Regions from separate parts of the Homo sapiens genome. Here region 2 is linked to region 1. Evidence: promoter capture Hi-C in human tissues and cell types (Jung and others, 2019). All regions are on one chromosome and are shown on one strand. Each heading gives the region's core, a stretch centred on a gene start or on the middle of the fragment in contact. The rest is flanking DNA. Distances are from core to core; before and after follow the strand shown. Region 1 holds the start of CMTM8 (CKLF like MARVEL transmembrane domain containing 8). Region 2 overlaps CMTM8 (CKLF like MARVEL transmembrane domain containing 8).

Evidence for each region. The method cuts DNA at HindIII sites, captures the fragments that hold promoters and counts their contacts. A contact is called where the count stands out against the background at its distance.
Region 2: a contact is called between a fragment that was not itself captured here and the fragment with the promoter of CMTM8 in region 1, in 4 of the 25 tissues and cell types used here (H1 embryonic stem cells, adrenal gland, bladder and 1 more).

Annotation. Positions count from the first base shown.
Region 1 is chr3:32,235,780-32,240,891 of GRCh38, reverse strand. It overlaps CMTM8 (CKLF like MARVEL transmembrane domain containing 8), which reads right to left and starts at 2,212. Exons shown (of 4, transcript NM_178868.5): 1 at 1,773-2,212. The coding sequence starts at 1,919. RefSeq lists a silencer at 2,199-2,408. The HindIII fragment of the contact is 9,285 bases long and covers 1-5,112 here.
Region 2 is chr3:32,354,419-32,359,530 of GRCh38, reverse strand. It overlaps CMTM8 (CKLF like MARVEL transmembrane domain containing 8), which reads right to left. Exons shown (of 4, transcript NM_178868.5): 2 at 1,985-2,158. Among named protein-coding and RNA genes, the nearest start is that of CMTM7, 35 kb to the left of the region's middle. RefSeq lists an enhancer at 1-634. The HindIII fragment of the contact is 9,259 bases long and covers 1-5,112 here.

The sequences.
Region 1 (5,112 bases), core at 963-3,462:
CGCTTGAGCCCAAGAGGTCAAGGCGGCAGTGAACCATGATGGTGCCACCGCACCTCAGCCTGGGAGACAGAGCAAAACCCTGTCTCAAAACAAAACAAAACAAACAAAAAAGGTGCATAATTAGCTCTGTCAAAAATAAAAACTATAGTAGTAATAAGGGTGATTTTGCTTACATGTTTTCCCATCTTTTTCAAAACGCTTAATGAAATCTAAAAGGATACATGCTAACATGTCAACAGTGATTATTTCTAGTAATGGGATTGTGGGCCACTTACATTTCTTTCACTTTTGTATTTCCTGAAAAAGCGCAGTACACAGAGCATATCGATAATAAATCAGAAAAAAACCCAAAGGCGTTATACTTCATGCCTGGCCCAAATCCACCCCAAGGTAGAAGGCCCATCTCTGTCATTTTAGCTTTTGTTTGCGCTGCTGAAGCAGAGGAGCCTGCCAACTCCTTCATTTGCACAGCAAATATTTGTTGAACTCCTAAAAGCTAGGCCCTGCAAGGCGATTCCAATACCTTCAGCTTTTGAGTCTCCTGAAGTCCTCAATACTCGCTGAGGGAACCAGCTGGGAGAGGAGCTAAGCCAACACTTCTCATACCTTATGTGCATTATGACCACCAGGGGCTTCATAGAGCAGGTCCGGGTGGTATCTGAGACTGGGGGAGCAAGCAAGCTACTTGAGGTACACAAGATTTACTTCAGGTTTCTCAAAGGAACCGCCCAGGTCTTCAGTCACTTCTGCACCATGATGGTGTGCCCATTCTCTAACTCCCACATAGGCTCATTTTCAATTCCCAAATATTTAACAAAAGTCTGTGAGAGATGACAGAGGGGCACTGCTGGGGCAGCTGGAAGCTGTCTCAACTGCTTGCAGTTATGAGCACGGCCCTGCAGAAAGGCAGGCCTGGGTTTGAATCCATGCTTCACCATCCACCGGTGTGATTTACGTCCCCTCTCTAGGCCTTCACAGGGGAGGGTGGTCGTTGGATTACACGAGGGTATGAGGACATCTAAAGGGCTTGACAAGATCCTGGTACACGAAGAAGACTCAAACAGTGACCACCTCTAACTGCTGACAGGACTCCAGTCCTTTCTCAGCTATGAAGGACTGGCTGGGACTTCTGGGAAGATCACGTGAGTTTTCAGCCTCTATGCCCTCCAATGAAGAGAAGAACGCCCATGCCCTGCCTCCTTCCCAGGAATGTTCTGAGCCTAAACCAGGATGTGCACAGCACCATGCAAAAGACCTCTTTGGTCCTAAAATAGGTTATGGCACTCAGATTTTATTCAGTAAAATTTTCCTGACTCACCTCAATGTTACTACCAGGGAGATAATTAGGAAAAGAAAGAAGCCCTTTCCTCTTCCCCTGATCTTAGGAAGCTTTATTTTCAGGGAGGAGGCCATCCACGTGGAGATCAGGTGAGAAAGGCACCAGGTGTCTCTGACACTCAACACAAACTCAATAGCCACTAAGCCAAGCTTCCTGCTCCCAGGATCTGCCGCCGCCACCGAGAGGACCCAACAAGCTGAATTTCTCCCACAGCAAGACATCCTGAGGATCACAACCCTTTCTTCCCAGGACAGCCCGAGTTTCCTGGACCTTGTTTAGAGTCTTTCACTTTGGGAAGAAGGCGAGGCTGAGCAAAAACGGTTCCCTAAAGCCCGCGGGAAGATCTGAGCAGGCTCCATCCCGAGAAGCACGGCGGAAGCACGCGCCGGGGTCCAGCTGAGCCCCCCGCCACCCCCGGCCCGTCGGCACTCACGATCTCGGCCACGATGAGGAAGCCGGGCAGGGTGCGGAGGAACTCCCGGTCGTAGGCGAAGCTGCTGCTGCTGGTGGAGAAGTTCTCTGCGAAGGAGCTGGCGGTGGTGGTGACTGTGTGCGAGCGGGCGCGCTGCGGCTCCTCCATCGTCGAGCCACTGCCGGGCTGGCGCGTCCCCAGGGACCCCGGCGGGTCTGGGGCTGGACGCGCGGCCCTGCGCCCTGGGGACACAGGCGCGGGGGAGGGGAGCGCGGCCCGCGCGGGGCAGGAGGTGCGAGGGGGGCGCCCGCCGGGGGCTGTCCAGGCGCGGCGGGTGTCCCTCTAGTGCGCGGTGCCCCTAGCGCCTCGGTGCGCGGGCTCCCGAGCTGCGCTGGGGCCCTAGAGGAAGAGGAGAGCGAGCGAGGGGAGGCTGCCGGGCAGCCGGGGAAGGCGGTGGAGGCCCGGAGGAGGGGAGGGGGCGGGGAGAGGGGCGGGCGGGAGGCGGGCAGGAGAGGGACCGCCCCGCGGAGGCGCCGCGGACGCCCGCCCTCTTCACCTGTTGCCCGACTCCCAGCGGCGGAGAAGGCGCCGCGTCGCACCCAGGGTGGCTGGGTTGGCAGCCTGGCGGGCGGCGCGGAGGAGAGGGCGCAGGGGTCCTTCTGGCCGTCTTCCGCTCCCCCTCCCGGCCTTTACTTCTGTCAGGCCCCGCCTGGCCCAGGCCCGCAGCCTGTTTCCTTCCACCTGGGCGGGTCGGGGGCTGCGGGCATTGGGGCCCCTTAAGGAAACCCAGGCCTCCAGGGACTCCGCCGCTCCAGGACTCGGCGCGGAGGGAATGACTGAGCGACGACCGAGGCAGGGGGTGATGTGGTACCTCGAATGCTGTGGAAATGGCAGGAATGATGACCCGGCCGGACCTTAGACCCGAGATCGATGAGAGGCCGCCAGCACTGCCCGGGAGACGGCCCGCTCTTCTCCCCCTCCTGCTGCGGCCGCCGCCAGAGCCCGGTGTTATTTCCTGCCCCTCCTGTCGGGAACAATTTGAGGAACCAACTTAATCGCTTGGCTTTGAGGGCGCGACGCTTCCAGGCGCTCTCCGCGGCTCTGTCCCGCGGACCGGTGGAGCCTGGGTGACGGCGCCTGGGCCGGAGGAGGGGAGATGTTTGGGGTCCCTGGCCAGGATGAATCAGCGTAACCGTCCCGTCACCCTCGGGGAAAAAAAATGTTTCAAGAAGGCTTGAAGGGTGTGATTTGTGTAATGTTAACTTTAGGACAAATGAGCTGTGCTTTCCTGGCATGGGAAGGGGATGGGGGTCCTCATTTAGTGAGGCAGTTTGTAACAGGGTCAGGGAAGAACTGAGCTCGGCTGCGTGCGTTTATCGGCTGTATGACCCAGAGCGAGTGGCTCTAGTTTTTGGACCTCAGTAATGCCATCTCTAAAATGCAGGCTTTGACAGATGGACCTCTGAACAAAAAGATTATCTTCCGCTTGGTCCCTCCTTCTATTTTGTGAAAGGGTAGCAAGAAACATTTTATCTGGAAGCCACCAAAAGAAAAGGAAATAATCTTTGGCTATAAATCGAGGGTATCTTTGATTCACAGTGAAGGCATTTCTGCTGATCTGTTCCAAGACAGGTTAAAAACGAGATCAGAAGGGACATTTTCTTCACAGTGTCTTATCAAGTGTGCTGAGAAGAAAGCAAAAACGACAATCTAATAAAATAAAACAAGGAATTAGTGTCTTTTAAGTCTAGGGCCTAGCCAGGAAGACCTCCAGGAGTAAAAGTTAAGGCTTCAAAAGCATGGCAAAGATGTAGATTTGGAGAGATTCCATCCATGTGCATTTGGTAAGCACCTTGGGCTGGTGGGTAAATTCTTAAAATTTAAAATATAGCACTTCTCCCTGGAGCAGTAGTTCTCAAAGTGGTCCTTGGACCAACAGCAGGTAAGTTCCCTGGGAACTTATCAAAAATGCAAGGTCTCAAGCCCCACCCCCAGACCCTCTGAATCAGAAACTCTGAGGGTGGAGCCAGGAAGCTGTGTTTGAACAAGCCCTCCAAAAGACACTGATGCATGCTGAAGTTAGCTGCTGCTTTAGAGAAACTGTTAATGAGTTTGGGGAAATAAGAGATACATACATGAAATGGCTGGAGGAGACTCAAGCATTATGCATGACATTTAGTGAACGTAAAAGACGGAGTCTAGACAACTTTATTTCCATAATATTAACAAAGGACAATCCTCTCTTAAAATTCCTGGGGTCAGATGAATTTCTAAATTCAGATTTTGTTTTTCAATTTAGAAAGGTAAAATGTGCATGTACCATATATTACATAATACCTTTGGTAAGGTCTGGGGTGACACTCTAATATACTAATTTTCTGCAAGGGAAATCATGAATGACATAAGTGTATGCTTGGATTATCTACTGCAATGTAATAAATGTTCACAAAATATTAGTGGCTTAAAATCACCATTTTATTTGCTCAGAAATCTGTTGTGTCAGGAATTTGGGAAGGGCTTGGCTGGCAGGTTCTTCTGCTTTGCATGGTGTGATTGGAGTCATTTACTCAGCTGCTTTCAGTTGGTGACTTGGCAGGGCCAGAAAGTCCAAAAAGTCTTCATTCCCATTTGAGCATTTCAGTGCCCTTTCAACTTGGGCTTTCTAACAGTATGATAAGCTCATGGTGGTTGGACTTCTACCTGGCAGCTGGCTACTGGAAGAGACTTTCTAAGAGGGGCAAATGCAGAAGCAGATCTCTTAAGGCCCAGCCCTGAAGGTTACACGGACTCATTTCCACCACATTCTATTGGTCTAAGCCAATGAATGACAAGGCCAGCCAGAGTCACGCAGAGGGGAAACAGATACCACCTGTGGATGGGAGGAGCAGTAAAGAATTGTGGCTGTCTTTTAATCTAGGTGAGATAAAGACAAAGACAATAAATAGCTTCACATCTGTTTAGGTTATGTTTTTCTACCAAATATGTTTTCTGCAAGCTCAGGAAAAAAAATTTTGGTTTCAGCTTTTGGGATTTCAGAATCACAGAGAAAAAATTATACACTGGTTGCTTGAAAACTAGCTGCCCCTTTCCAACTGCTGCCTACATTTGGGTGATTATCTTCCACCTGAAACTCTACTGATTGGTGCCCATTCTTCCAATAACACCCTTATCCAGTCCACCTTCCGTCTTCCTGCAAGAATTATTGTCCTGAAACCCCAGACTAAGGTACCACTGTGCACAGCATAAGGGCCTATATAAGATATTCAGCCTATCTCTTCTGATCCCTTTTCTCAACCACTTTAGAATGCATACTGTTTCAGCCCCAGATACACTTTGTATATATCACTGTAAGTGTGACCAC
Region 2 (5,112 bases), core at 1,514-4,013, 120 kb before region 1:
ACAACCTCCGTCTCCTGGGTTCGAGCGATTCTCCTGCCTCAGCCTCCCGAGTAGCTGGGATTACAGGCATGTGCCACTACGCCAGGCTAATTTTTGTATTTATAGTAGAGACGGGATTTCGCCATGTTGGCCAGGCTGGTCTCAAACCCCTGACCTCTGGTGTCTACCCAAAATGCTAAGATTACAGGTGTGAGCCACCATGCCCGGCCACCACCAGTTTTTGTAAATAAAGTTTTACTGGAACACAGCCATGCTCATTCATTTACAAATTGCCTATGGCTTCTCTCAATGCTGCAGGCAGAGTTGAGTGGCTGGGCCGTAGGCGTGTGGCCCAAGACGACTACAGTACTTACTATCTGGTCCTTTACAGAGACAGCATGCCAATTGCTGATCTAGATAACATAACTAGAAATTGAGACTCATGCAAAAGGGGAAATAAGGGTACTGTCCATTCCTCCATCCCAACAATTTGCTCCCCTACTACACTGTCCAAGTTCCTCTTCTTCCAAGTTCACAGTCACTTTCTTCAAGACCCACCCTAGGACACAACTTTGTCCAAAATGGCATTCCTTAAATTCCAACCTACTTTGATTATTCCCTCATCCTGTGTTCCTATAGTTACTATTACTTCAAGGTGCTAACTTTTTTTGAATCTAGCATCTAAGCGAGTCTTTCCCTCCTGATGCCCATCTGAGGCAGCAAAACACCAATTCTAACAAGGCTGTTTCCACCACCCTAGACAGTGATTAAGCACCTTATTTGGAATTACTTTTCAAACTTGCAACGCTTTCTTGAAAATCTTAATAAAGAGTCCTTACTTTTGGATTTGGGGAAATGGTCAAGAGTCAGTCAATCTGCCTTGTGAAATAAAGTAAGACTTGTTTTCCTGGGGGACTTAGCTTAGCAACACAGAAAGAACAAAGCCAGGTGCGTTTTGAACAATGATAGTGTTGTCTGAAAGTGTGCCAACTTAACTTAGTCTATAACCACAAATAGACTATATTTCAAATTTGGTTCATAAGTCAGTTATTTGGAACTAAATATTTTTTCTCACATATTGGTTGAAAACAGACAAAAAAATAGTATCACTGGAGAGCTCTGTTTTATACATAAACACATGTGGTACCACTGGGATTTTTTTTGTAAATCATTTAGCTACTTTGAATTTGCCAACCAGATTGTCAATGCTCTTAAGGCAAGGGGAACCCACTTTCCATCTCTGTGAATCCACTTAGGATGTGTGTGTTCGATCTCCAGGATGAAGCTAAATGTCACTTCCTCTCTGAAGAGTTCCCAGCCATCCTAAGCTGAGGTGGCAGCCTCCATCACACTTTCTACACAGCTTCACTGCAGTGTATGCCACAGGGTCTCGTATCTACTCATTTTCTTATCTATTTACCCTGGACCACATGTTCACCATCCTGCATCCAGCATGGTGCCAGAGCCAGGATGAGAATCCAGTCATTCCTGACAATTCTCCTTTTCAAATATATAAGAACACCTATGTTTTCTAATAGCAATTTTCATTTGCATTCTAACTCCATACACAATGTGCTCCAACATCATAAGAGCTGTGATGTACAAAGGGTTAAGGCCACAGCCCCAGGAGAGGTTTATAGGAAGCACGATCTGCAGAGGTTGGCGCCCTGGCATATTTATTTCCAGTTGACATTGTTCACAGGGAAATAATAAAATGAGAATCTAATGGAGAGAACCTGGCTTTTCTTGATTCAGTCTTCTGAGAATTGGTTTGCAATTCTGCCTGAAAGGAATTTCTGGACCTTCTAATGTGCCCAGTTTCACACCCAGGTGTAAGCCACTTGAAAGGCAATTAGATGATGCTGAGATTATCTGCTGTGTTGAGTTCTCCATGGTATGGCCCCACCTTTTCTGGGCAGAGAGACAGTCTTGGATTGACTAGTAGAGGACTAATGCCATCTACCGAGTGGGCACTGGACAAGACCACCACCCACAGCTTCCTTACCACTGTTGTCCAGGGCACCTGGGGAATCCTGGTGTAGGTCATTGTTATGTAGATAATGAGGAAGAAGACGGTGAGGACCCAGTAAAATACAGCTACAAACATGACCCAGCCAAATGCGGGGACCCGGAAGTACTCAGTTCCAGCAATAAGCGTCCATACCAGCAGCCCCAGAACCTGTAAAGTGGTAGAAGCAGTGGAGAGAGGAGGGGACAGTAGAAGATAAAGAAAAAGAAGGAAGGAGGGACAAAGAAAAAAAAATAATTATACAGAATGTCAATTACAACTTATTTATTTATTTATTTGAGATGGAGTCTCGCTCCCGTCGCCCAGGCTAGAGTGCCATGGAGCAATCTTGGCTCACTGCAACCTCCACCTCCCGGGTTCAAGGGATTCTCCTTCCTTAGCCTCCCAAGTAGCTAGGATTACAGGCGTGCAGCACCATGCCTGGCTAAGTCAATTACAACTTTCATGCATATACCCCACCTTCCCCTGCCATGACTTAAAAATATTACAGGGTTTGCAAACTCATGTGCCTACAAATGCCAGGAAGGTAACCATGGCAGTCCAGGCAGGGACCAACAATATCTTGTTTTAGGGGGTTCTCTTAAAATTCAGCTCTAGCTGATAGTTGTGGGCTGGTTTTGCCAGGTCTTCTCCATCCCAGGAGAACACAGAAACTCAAGCTTGTACATAATAATCTTGATTTTAAATATTAGTACTAATCAGGGGTTTTAAAACACCACTTGGTGAGAAACAACATCCATGGCTGGAATTTGCTCCCAGGCTGGTATTTGTCAAGGAAATGAGACTGCAGGTGTACTTGGAGGTGGTCCCTGGAGCTGATCTGCTTTCAAGGGACGAACCTCTGGGCATTCCCTGCTCTTCTCACAGATGGCCAGTAACATGTGGTCTGAGACAGCTTTCAGAAGAGAGAATGAACAGCGGCCCAGTCCAGATGTGGACACTCAGTATTTTACCACACGTTGTGCATTTACCCTAGCAATAGTCATCCAACTGCTGACAAGTAAGACCATACCCAAAGCCAAAGTAACACTACTCATTGACTAAAGGAAGACTTCATCAAGCAAAAGGAAACTGACCTAAACTGTAGGTGTCTTGAGTCCTGGACAAAGGAAGGCTAGAGCAAGGTATGCACTCACATTCTAGCACCTTCCAGGTGGACTTTATTCCTAAGTCACAAAAAAGTTGAGATGTGAACCACATGCCCAGGACACAGCAACAGGAGTCCAGGGTGGGCTCTAGCCCTGCAAGTCCTGGCTCGCTGTGTGACTCAGGACAAAGAATTTCATTTCTGGTTTAGCTTTCTTTGTGGTATATGAATCAAAATACTAAAGTAACTCTAATCAAGAGGCTCGGAAGACAGATTTCCTTTATTTGTTTAACACGGGAGCACCTACAATATCTGGGCTTCCTGCTATCAGGCCCCAAGGACAGTGGTATACAAATTGTACATATCCTGCTTGTAGAGCACTAAAGTCTAGTGGAGGGAAATACCTGACCGATTACAACTGTGGCAAATGTTATGAAGAAGGTAAACGGTATGATAAGGGTCTATGATGGGGGAAATGACCTTGCTGGCAGGCACAGGAAGCATCGGAGAAGTCCAGGCTGAAGAATAACCAGAAGGCTGAAAGCACTAGCGAGACAGAAGCAGGAAGGCAACATTATAGGCAGAGGACACAGCGTGGGCAAAGGTCTGAAGGTGGGAAGGGCTCTGCTACCTTCTAGAACCTGTAAGAATGTGTAGTAAGTTAGGATATTGGTGCAAAGTGTTAGAGAGCTGGGGAAGGTCAGATGATATGAGCCCAGGAGGCCTAGGGATTTTGTGCTTTATCCGAAGGGCAGTGGGAGAGTTTTAAGCAAGAGAATGTTAAGATTAGGCTAGATTTTTTTATAAAGCCACTCTGGCTGCAGGTAGAGAATGGACATGTGGAGGGGAAAGGGGGAGCAGTGGTGTGGAGACAAATTTAGAGAGCGTGCAATAATCCAAGTGGAAGAATATGAAGTCTTCAAGACCAATATGGTGGCAGTGAATATCGAGAAGTGAGTAAATTCAAGACAAATTTCAGCAGATGGTACTTTAATGGATTAGACATGGGGTTGGGGGAGGAGAAGGGAGCGGATACAATGGAATGATCTCCAGGTATCTAGAAAGATTTCTGGAGTAGATCAGGGTTGGACTTGTTCTGTTGGAACAATGGAAGAGGAACAGGCTAAAGGAGTGTTGTTCATGAGTTGAATTTTCAACCTACTCAGTCTGAGGTAGTTGGGGACCTTCAAATAGGGATTAGAAGAAGTAGATGTTGAAGAGAGACTTCAGGCCCTTCTTTAAGAAGACTTCCTGTGAAGATCTTGAAGCCATCAGACAGGTTTCCAAGGGACATGTTAAACTGCTTCCCGAGAGAAGCCACTTTCCTGGTACAGTTTTGGTGCCTGTGCCAGGGAGCAGCTAAGACTCTAAATGTTGCTGTTTCTGCTCTTTAGAGTTGAGCATCAACATTCTTTTATCTGCTTGATGTTAGTATATGAATTCCAGAGACAAGATGCTTAATGGAGATGTGCTTTTGTGTTTACATCCGTGGCAACAACACTTACTGAAAGTGAAGATACACAAAATGGGATATAATTCCAGAAAGTGCTAAGCCTCACACTAATGAGGTTTTTGGCCCGAATTGACTCTGACAGGTAATCTATACACATGTATTTGACATTCTGTTGGATCAGTAAGACTGGTAATAGATGTAATGCAGCATGGCAGCGTCTGAAACATTTCAGGCTTCTTGACTGAGATAGGGTCAGAACGGCCCTTTGTGGATGATTCACATAGGAAACATAACAGTGAGTGAAGAGGCACTGTAGATGTGTTGATAGTGTCTCTCTGTGTGATCACAAGGGCTTAAGAGTTTCCATCACAAGTCTGTATCCAGCTAAACAGGCTCAACTCACAGTTCTTGGCTCTGAATGCAAAAACGTTTTTCATTATTAACGCGAGTGAAGCCTGCTGTCCAGGTCTGCATTGTCTAGTTTGCTGGCTGTGGTCGTCTTTTACACAAAGGCACAATATTGTTAACTGAGCCGTCTTTCAAAGAACGGGAATACTTGACCCA